Linked DNA regions of Homo sapiens: all the other regions are linked to region 3. Evidence: promoter capture Hi-C in human tissues and cell types (Jung and others, 2019). All regions are on one chromosome and are shown on one strand. The core of a region is centred on a gene start or on the middle of the fragment in contact, and the rest is flanking DNA. Distances in the headings are between cores, read along the strand shown. Region 1 has its middle 48 kb from the start of FAM117B. Region 2 overlaps BMPR2 (bone morphogenetic protein receptor type 2). Region 3 holds the start of ABI2 (abl interactor 2).

Region 1 (3,339 bases), core at 79-2,578, 740 kb before region 3:
GTATACCTCCTATGATAATATTCATAATATCCTAAGGGGATATTACTCCTAATGTAACTTAAGGTGTACACCATATGTGTACACACCCTGTAATATTATTCATAACATCCTTGGGGATGTTACTACTAATGTAACTTAAGATATGTACTATGTGTGTACACCTCCGTGTTATGTTATTCATAAAAACCTCTGGGGATTTTACCTTTAATGTCTCACGAGTTGTATAATGTGTTTACAACCCTTGTGATATTATTCGTAATATGCTAGGGGATATTATCCCTAATATTTTGGTGGATGTCACTCCTATGAAACGGGTTGTACACCATGTGTGTACACCACAGGGGGTGATATCATTCCTAATATCCTACAGGGATGTTAACTCGTAATGTCACGGGGCGTGTACACCATGTGTGTACAAGCCCTGTGATATTATTCATAACATCCTAGGAAGATGTTAATCTTAATGTAACTTAAGGTGTACAACATGTGCGTACACCACCTGTGACATTATTCCTAACATTTTAAAGGGACGCTACTTCTTTTTTTTTTTTTTTTTTTTTTTTTGAGACGGAGTCTCGCTTCGTCGTCCAGGCTGGAGTGCAGTGGCACGATGTCGGCTCACTGCAAGCTCCGCCTCCTTGGTTCACACCGTTCTCCTTCCTCAGCCTCCCAAGTAGCTGGGACTACAGGCACCTGCCACCATGCCTGGCTAATTTTTTTTCTGTATTTTTAGTAGAGACAGGGTTTCACCATGTTAGTCAGGATGGTCTCAATCTCCTGACCTTGTGATCCGCCCGCCTTGGCCTCCCAAAGGGGATGTTACTTCTAATGTCACAGGGATTGTATACCATGTGTGTACATGCCCTGTGATATTATTCGTAATATGCTAGGAAGATGTTTCTCTTACTGTCACAGGAGGTTTACACATATGGTACCATCTATGTACACCCCCTGTGATACTGTTTGTAATATCCTAGGTGGATGTTACTTCTAATGTCACAGGGTGTGTACACCGTGTGTGTACACCACCTGTCATATTATTTGTCATATTCTAGTGAGATGTTACTCCTAATATCACAGGAGGTGTACACCATGTGGGTACATGCCCTGTGATATTATTCGTAATATTCTAGAGGGATGTTACCCCTAATGTCACAGGGGATGTGTACACTCCTTGTGATATTATGCATACTATTCTAGGGGAATGTTATTTCTAATGTCACAGGGGATGTCCACCGTGTGTGCACACCCTTGTGATATTATTTGTAATATCTTAAAGTGATGTTACTTCTAATGTCACAGGAGTGACATCCCCATAGAATATTACGAATAGCACTGGCGGTTTACACACATGGGGTACACACCCTGTGACCTTATAAGTAACATCTCCCTAGGGTATTACAAAGAATATCACAGAAGGTGTACACACATGGTGTACAACTCCTGTGACATTAGAAGTAACATCCCCTTTGGGAGGCCAAGGAGGGCGGATCACAAGGTCAGGAGATTGAGACCCCCTGTCATATTATTCATAACATCCTAGGGGGATGTTATTCCTTTTTTTATTTTTTTATTTTTTGACGGAGTTTTGCTCTTCCACCCAGGCTGGAGTGCAGTGGCGCGATCTCAGCTCACTGCAACCTCTGCCTTCCGGTTTCAAGTAATTCTCTTGCCTCAGCCTCCCAGGGGGATGTTATTCCTAATGTCACAGGGTATGTCCATCATGTGTGCACACCCCCTATGATATTATTTGTAATATCCTAAAGTGATGTTACTTCTAATGTCACAGGGGGTGTACCCCATGTGGGTAAACCACCAGTGATATTATTTGTAATATCCTAGGGAAATGTTACTGCTCATTTCACAGTGGGTTACACGATGTGTGTACAACCTGTGATATTATTTGTAATATTTTAGGGGGATGTTACACCTAATGTCACAGTGGGTGTACGCCGTGTGTGTACACCCTGTGATATTAATCGTAATATTCTAGGAGGATGTTATTTCTAATGTCACAGTGAGTGTACACCATGTGTGTACACCCTGTGATATTAATCGTAATATTCTAGCGGGATGTTAGTTCTAATGTGATGGTGGGTGTACACACATTGGCCAGGCGCAGTGGCTCACGGCTGTTATCCCAGCACTTTGGGAGGCCAAGGCAGGTGGATACAAGGTCAGGCATTTGAGACCAGCCTGGCCAACATAGTGAACCTCCGTCTCTACTAAAAATACAAAAAAAAAAAAAAAAAAAAAAAAAAAGCCAGGCTGGTGGCGGGAGCCTGTTGTCCCAGCTACTCGGGAGGCTAAGGCAGGAGAATCACTTCAACCTGGGAGGTGGAGGTTGCAGTGAGCCCTGATTGGGCCACTGCACTGCAACCCAGGCGACAGTGTGAGACTCCATCTCAAAAAAAAAATCCAAAAATTAGCCAGGTGTGGTGGTGCATGCCTATAATCCCAGCTATTTAGGAGGCTGAGGTATGAGAATGGCTTGAACCCAGGATGTGGAGATTGCAGTGAGCCGAGATTATGCCATTGCACTCCAACCTGTGTGACAGAGTGAGACTCCATCTCAAAAAAAAAAACAAACAAAAGATTTTTACTTTTTCTTATTCTCTCTTAGGAATACCTATGATTTATAGGATTGGCCACTTTACATATTCCCATATTTCTTGAAGGCTTTGCTCATTTTTAAAAATTCTTTTTTCTTTATTTTTGTCTGACTGGGTTAAATTAAAAGACCTGTCTTCTTCTGCTAAATTTCTTTCTTCTGCTTGGTCTAGTCTATTTCTAAGTCTTTCAACTGTGTTTTGTAATTCCTATAATACATTTTTCATTTGCAGAAGTTCTGTTTTTTTAAAATATCTATCTTTTTAGTAAATTTTCTTCTTTTTTGTAAATTTTTCATTCATATCCTGTATTGTTTCTCTAATTTTTTCATGTTGTTTTTTTCACCTTTTCTTGGATCTCATTGAACTTCCTTACAATATATATTTTGAAAATTCTTTGTCTGTAATTTCAGAATTTTCATTTTGGTTAGTATCTTTTGCTGGAGAGCTAATGTAATCTTTTTAGGTTGTTGAAATACTCTGTTTTCTCATACTGTCAGACTTCTTACATTGGTTCTTTCTCATCTGGAGAATCTCTCACTACTTGTTTTTGAATTTACTTTTCATTGCATGGGACTTTTAAAAGAATTATCCCCTTCAAGGGTGTGACTGTAATGTATGTTGTGAATGGTTGTTTGGCTTCAATTCTGGGTGCTGTCAGGGTGCCAAAGTTCTGTATGAATTCCTTGGTTATAGTTAGCCTTTGTGCAGTGGCTTTCTCAAGTGCTGG
Region 2 (3,418 bases), core at 342-2,841, 760 kb before region 3:
TATACTTAAAATCCTAGGAAGTTATCTGTAACCAGTCTCTTGTCTCAGGCTCTTCACCTTGTTACCAATCCTCGTAAGTATGTAAAGGAAACATATTTTTAAAGAAGCTTAACAGTAAGAAAAAATTACTAAAAGATGCAATTCAAAGATAGGTCCCAGTTTAACACTGAATTGCTTGACTTCTGTGGCTTTTCTTTTTCTGGCCACATTTATTTATTTAAGCAATTTTTGTATGCCTTGTTATTTCATTTCCATAGAGATTATATTGTATCAGTGTTTATGTAAGCTGGAATCATCCTCAGTTTTTTGCTGATAATTTTTCAAATAAAGATACATGGATAATTGTAAAATACACTAACTCTTAGGGTGTTGTAGTAGCTGAAACATGGAGATGCGTAGCTGTCATGCTTTTTCTGAATGGACAGGAGAAACATAAGCTACGGAGTATTCACTTCTGAGGATGCTTTTCCGGAAAAAGAAAGGCTAGAAAATACTCGCACTTCCTCAGAACCCTCTTTCTTGTTAACGGGTATCTTTTGTTGGTGTGTTTTGCTCTTACATTACAGATAGACTATCATATATGACTTTATGAATAATTTCAGTTATTTTGCTTTTGTATAAGCTGTCTGAAGCCTTGCTATGCTGTATAAGTTGTGTTTGATGGATCAGTGTGAGTATAAAATAAAGCAAATCACTTTTCTTTTGTATTATCTATGGATGCCACTATGAAAGCTGACATTAAGCCACTAAAGAGTTTTCTATGAATAAGTGTAAGTAAATGCTTTGATATATATAAACCTAAATAAAAAGATTGTATTGATACAGAGACATTGGAGAAGGAGATTTTAAGGCAGTTCTTTAGGTTTAAAAAGGCTTGCTGTAAAATGGTGCGTTATTCCGTTTATTAAAGATCATATTAATGACAATAGTAATTGTGTTTTTTTATTTTAAGAGGTCACCAGAAATTGTTAGTATGATAATTAGGGAGTTTGCACTAGAATAGTAAATGTTCTATCTAATATGACTTTCATAACTCAGTATGATACATCAAAAAATAAAAAATAAAAAAAAATAAATAGGCCGGGCGTGGTGGCTCACGCCTGTAATCCCAGCACTTTGGGAGGCCGAGGTGGGTGGATCACGAGGTCAGGAGATCGAGACCATCCTGGCTAGCACGGTGAAACCCCGTCTCTACTAAAAATACAAAAAATTAGCCGGGCGCGGTGGCGGGCGCCTGTAGTCCCAGCTACTCGGGAGGCTGAGGCAGGAGAATGGCGTGAACCCGGGAGGCGGAGCTTGCAGTGAGCCGAGATCGCGCCACTGCACTCCAGCCTGGGCGACAGAGCGAGACTACGTCTCAAAAAAAAAAAAAACTAAATTTAGTATAATAGTTGCTATTTTCTGACCATGTATTATATGCCAGGCACTGTGTTAGTTATTTTACATACATTGTTGATAATTCTCACAACAATCCTACATAATATGTATTACTATCCCCCTTTTATAAATGAAGAAACTGAAAGAGAAATTAAATACTCTGCCCAGTCACAGAACTGGCAAGTGAGATTGTAACGCATTTTACGTTTTGCTTTGAACTGCAATTTTCAAGCTCTCCTTGTGGCAAGAGAAACTCAAAAATAAAAATAAAACTGGCCGGGCGTGGTGGCTCACGCCTATAATCCCAGCACTTTGGGAGGCCGAGGCAGGTGGATAACGTGAGGTCAGGAGTTCGAGACCAGCTTGACCAACATGGAGAAACCCCGTCTCTACTAAAAATACAAAATTAGCTGGGTGTGGTGGTGCATGCCTGTAATCCCAGCTACTCGGGAGGCTGAGGCAGAAGGAGAATCGCTTGAATCCGGGAAGCAGAGGTTGTGGTGAGCTGATATCGCACCATTGCACTCCAGCCTGGGCAACAAGAGTGAAACTCCGTCTAAAAAATAAACAAATAATAAAAACAGTTCAGTAGTTAGAGTAACCAGGAATATTCATGGAGTAATTTAAAGGTGCAGAAAGCTATCAGGTACCAAAACAGCTATTTTTATTGGCCTAATATTGTGTTTGTGCTTCACATCATCAAATAATCTTTTGGGTTGGATCTAGTATTTTAAATAGAAGGCCTTGTTAAAGCAGAATATGAGTTTGTGAAGGCACACATTGTTTGTCTCCAGATTAATTCAATGTGTTAGCGAAGTGTCCTGGAGCAGGATCTCGTGTCAATCCATGGGACAACTATCCTTAAAAGGGTGCTGGGCCACTTTTACCTATATGCCTAGGGAACTTTTGCTTGTGGAAAACATGACCTACTCCCATAGGCTGTTGTCACCTTAAATAATACTTTATTTTAGGGATGGAAGAGATTTGGGGTATCCTTTTCATTTGGACTCATATGCATATGCGTAACCTTACAATCTGGTATGTTACAGGATACCATTGCAGTTTTCTACCGAGCCCACTATGTAATATTCAAAATTATACCTGAATGTCCTTAGAGAAAATGTGATAACCTGGGAAAAATGTGTAATAATAACCTGCTGAACCTTTTAATAATGACTTGCCACAAGTAAAATATTCTCATTTACACCTATACCTATCTAATCTACCTGGTTTACATCCTTCTCTGCGAAACAGCTAGTAAACTAGTGATTAATCTTCCTCTTTATTCTACAACATCTTTCAGACCAAAGGCCAAATTTTATATTTTAGCAGGTTTCATTTTATTGATATATTATTACTCACTTTTTCAAAATTGAATCATTGCTGTACTGAGAAATACCAAAAAGTATAATATGATCCCTGCCTTCCCTTACCCAACAATTTCCTGGGTTGGCCTTGTCTCCTCCATGCCTATCCAGGAAATTGTTGCATTCAAGTAAGATGACATGTAAGGGCCCAAGTAAGTGGTAAATTACATGCTCAATATGTGTTTGAAGAGCCAAAGAAGACTTCAGTTGAGGAAATGATGTTGAACAGGGTCTCGAAAAGATGTATGAGACATCAATAGAAAAAGTGAAGAGAGGCAGGGCACGGTGGCTCACGCCTGTAATTCCAGCACTTTGGGAGGCCAAGGTAGGTGGATCAGGAGGTCAGGAGTTTGAGACCAGCCTGACCAACATGGTGAAACCCTATCTCTACTAAAAGTACAAAAATTAGTCAGGCATGGTGGCACGTGCCTGTAATCCCAGCTACTCAGGAGGCTGAGGCAGGAGAATCGCTTGAACCTGGGAGGTGGAGATTGCAGTGAGCCAAGATGGTGCCATTGCACTCCAGCCTGGGCAACAGAACGAGACTCCATCTCAAAAAAAAAAAAAAAAAAAGAAAGAAAAGAAAATAAAAGAAAAAAAAAAGTGAAGACAATATTTGAAGTGACCAGAAGTAAGGGAGGACATGGACTGGAAATAAAACAGACAAAGTGGAT
Region 3 (3,427 bases), core at 549-3,048:
CAAGCTCCTCACACTGAAGTTTGAGAACCACTACTACAGAAGATGGTTAAAGTGCTTAAGAATAAAACTAGTTGGACTAGACCAACATTTTCAATATCCTTTAATTTAGGTTCCACAGTGAAAACTCATACATTCTGCTAATGTATGTATCATGAAGCCAATATAACATTAGGGTTTGCTCCAGATATTTGTAATGATATGGTATTAAAGTGATTTTTTTTTTTTTTGAGACGGAGTCTCGCTCTGTCGCCCAGGCTGGAGTGCAGTGGCACGATCTCCGCTCACTGCAAGCTCTTCTCCCAGGATGACGCCATTCTTCTGCCTCAGCTTCCCGAGTAGCTGGGACTACAGGCGCCCGCCACCATGCCCAGCTAATTTTTTTATTTTTATTTTTAGTAGAGACGGGTTTTCACTGTGTTAGCCAGGATGGTCTCGATCTCCTGACCTCGTGATCCGCCCGCCTCGGCCTCCCAAAGTGCTGGGATTACAGGCGTGAACCACCGCGCCCGTCCTAAAGTGATTTTTTTTTGAAAGTATAAGTTTCCTCATCATCTGAATGAAAAAAATTCACTGTAGGAGGGCCAAGAGATCACCAGATTAAGAAAAGTGTTGAAACAATGGATCTTGTTCTAACTACACAAGTCTAAGATGGTACTGCCTGGAATCAACTTTGATTTTCCACAGCACAAATAAAGGTCATGGCTTCATATCTCAGCAATGGTCAGGAGTTTTAGTTTTTCCAGATTACATTGTGTGGGGTAGTCTGATTTAGGAAAACAAGACACAGTATCTGGAGAATAAAAACAGAATTATAACTCTGCAAGAGGAAAATTATCTGCCTTGAATTTTTGTAGCACTTAATGTTTTTTCAAGGTATTTTCACAATAAACGTTGATTTTATCTATGTAACAGCCCTGTGAAGAAGGCAATTACTACTAGCAAAATCGTTTTCAAAATTTTAAATACTGAATCCATGAATAGGAAAAAGGACAGCGAAGTTGATAGCATTAGAGAAATGACAGAAAAGGTTATGAGTGAGGAAGCGAATCATAGAAATGGCAAACATAAAAAGCTGAGGCCCACGGCACCGCAAACCAGGAGAGAAAGGGGCTAATCTGGCAGGGGAGAACAGCGTTAGTGGGGAAGTGCAAAGAGGCAGGGGCGCAGGAAAGCTGGGGTTAGGAAACTGCAATTCACTGCAACAAAGAGGATGAGGTCAAATCTGAGAAAAATGAAGTCAGGTGGCATTGAAAGCTGCGTGGAAGTTTTATTCCTGCCCTGTTGAGGTGTGATCTTTCACAGAGGAGGGTCCCAAGAGTGGAGGCTGTGCCCTCCTTCGGCCTCCCGTCAGCAGCAGAGGGAGAAAAGCCTCGAGAAGTTCCCTAGGCCGATGACCTCCATGGGGACGGAGCCGAGATGAGTCCCGGAGGGAGCCGGCAGGAAGCCAGCTGAGCAGGGTGGTGTGTTCCCGCCGGGCTAACAAAGGCCGCCGGGAGGTGGGGGCTTCTCCAGCCGCTCCAGCGGCGGGCGGGCGGCGGAAGGGTTAACTGCACCACCAACTCCCGCGCGCATCCCGGCCCCTACCCCCGCCGTCGCTAGGAGACGCCGGAAGTGGGGGAGGGGCCGGCGGCGCGGGCGAGGGTGGGAATCTTTTTCGGGCTCCCGGGGGCGGAGGGAAGGGAGCGCGCGTGCGCGCGCCCGGCCGGCCGTCGCCGCGGTGACCGTCCTCGGAGTCCGTCGGCTCGCGCCCCGCCCCCGTCGCCCCCTCCCCTGTCGCGCGCTGGGGCTGTTTCTCGCTCCTTCCGAGTTACCGCCGCCGTCGCCGCCGCTCCTCCTCTCCCGGTCCTGGGTTTCCTTGGCGCTGCGGCCGCCGCTCCCTCTGCGACCTGTATGAGGAGGAGGAGGAGGAGGATGTGAAGATGGCGGAGCTGCAGATGCTGCTGGAAGAGGAAATCCCGGGGGGCCGCCGGGCCCTCTTCGACAGCTACACAAATCTGGAACGGGTGGCCGATTACTGCGAGAACAACTACATACAGGTGCGAAGCATCCCCAGCTGGGCCGCGTCGGGGACCCCCCCGCCGGGGGCCGCGCGCCTCGGGGCGTGGGGCCGAGGCCGCCTCGGGGACACGGCCCAGCGGAGCCCCCGATGGGGGTGGGGAGCTGGGTGAGGGCTGGGGCTGGTGAATGGGTGGGAATTCTCCGGCTGGAGAAACTGCATTTTAAAAACCTTTAAAAAAGCGGTGAAGCAGTTCTCGGCGTGGTGCGTGTGTCGCGTCCCGCCTCCTCGCCGCTCCCGCCCTCGGCCGCCCCCGCACTCCGCGCCGGTCAGCGTTCCGGATGGCGGAGGGGGCGGAGAGTGGCATTTTCTGTTTGACGGAATCCTGCTCCCCACCTTAGGGTAGGGGTGTCGCGGGTGTTGACGGGTTACCTCCATCCCCCAAATTCTGGATGATTTTTAAGGGGTTATCTTGCTGCAGAGTGAAGTGCTTCAGGCTTCAGTTTTCTGTTCCTGTGAATGCTTCAGAAACCCTTTCTTAATATTTTATGTTCTAAAGGGGATACGGTAGAAGAGCAGCAGTTTCTTGTTGGAAGTTAATGCCATTTTTTTCCCTATGGAGAAGGATGATGAGCTGATTCCCCCCTCCCTCCTAGTTCTGTTAGAATAGGCAGTTTTCCTGGGGGTGGGAGGAGGACAGACTATGACTGTTTCTTAGAGAGAATTGGGAAGATGAACCTCCTGGTTTAATTTTTTTTTTTTTTTTTTTTTTTTACCGTGATGGATCGTTTGGCTCAAGGGCTGATAGTGGTAGGGGCGTGTGTATGGAGGCGGGGGATACCGGATGGTATGAGATCCAGCTGCTCCTGGATGAAGCAAAATATTCTGTGGATTAAAAAAATCCTTCTTTAAAAATTACTTGAAAGGATAGCAGGTTAAAAGGCACAGTTTGCAAAATCTAAAATCTTTTGCTTTTTTTTTTATGGTTATTTTGAATTATGGGTTCTGCCTCCATTTTTTTTCTTTCCCGTTTAAATTCTCTTGGGATAAAGATGGAAATGGAAGCAATATGTTAAACTGTTTCTTCACAGTCTTTTTTTTTTTCCTTTTTTCTTGCTCCCACCTCCATCTCTCCAGGGATCCTTCTTTTTTCTTTTCTTTTTGAGACACAACCTCGTTCTGTAGTCCAGGTTGGAGTGCAGTGGCGCGATCTCGGCTCACTGAAACCTCGGCCTCCTAGGTTTGAGCAATTCTCATGCTTCAGCTTCCCGAGTAGCTGGGACTACAGGCGCCCGCCACCACAGCCGGCTAATTTTTGTATTTTTAGTAAAGATGGGGTTTCACCATGTTGACCAGACTGGTCTCGAACTCCTGACTTCAAGTCATCCACCCACCTCGGCCTCCCAAAGTGCTGGGATTATAGGCGTGAGG

Evidence for each region. The method cuts DNA at HindIII sites, captures the fragments that hold promoters and counts their contacts. A contact is called where the count stands out against the background at its distance.
Region 1: a contact is called between a fragment that was not itself captured here and the fragment with the promoter of ABI2 in region 3, in 1 of the 25 tissues and cell types used here (neural progenitor cells).
Region 2: a contact is called between a fragment that was not itself captured here and the fragment with the promoter of ABI2 in region 3, in 1 of the 25 tissues and cell types used here (spleen).

What each region holds. Positions count from the first base shown.
Region 1 is chr2:202,585,325-202,588,663 of GRCh38, forward strand. No RefSeq gene overlaps it. Among named protein-coding and RNA genes, the nearest start is that of FAM117B, 48 kb to the right of the region's middle. The HindIII fragment of the contact is 6,678 bases long and covers 1-3,339 here.
Region 2 is chr2:202,566,824-202,570,241 of GRCh38, forward strand. BMPR2 (bone morphogenetic protein receptor type 2) reads left to right here. Exons shown (of 13, transcript NM_001204.7): 13 at 1-926. Among named protein-coding and RNA genes, the nearest start is that of FAM117B, 66 kb to the right of the region's middle. The HindIII fragment of the contact is 4,279 bases long and covers 1-3,418 here.
Region 3 is chr2:203,326,596-203,330,022 of GRCh38, forward strand. It overlaps ABI2 (abl interactor 2), which reads left to right and starts at 1,799. Exons shown (of 12, transcript NM_001375670.1): 1 at 1,799-2,036. The coding sequence starts at 1,920. RefSeq lists an enhancer at 686-1,656 and silencers at 1,458-1,797, 1,554-1,741, 2,018-2,367. The HindIII fragment of the contact is 25,150 bases long and covers 1-3,427 here.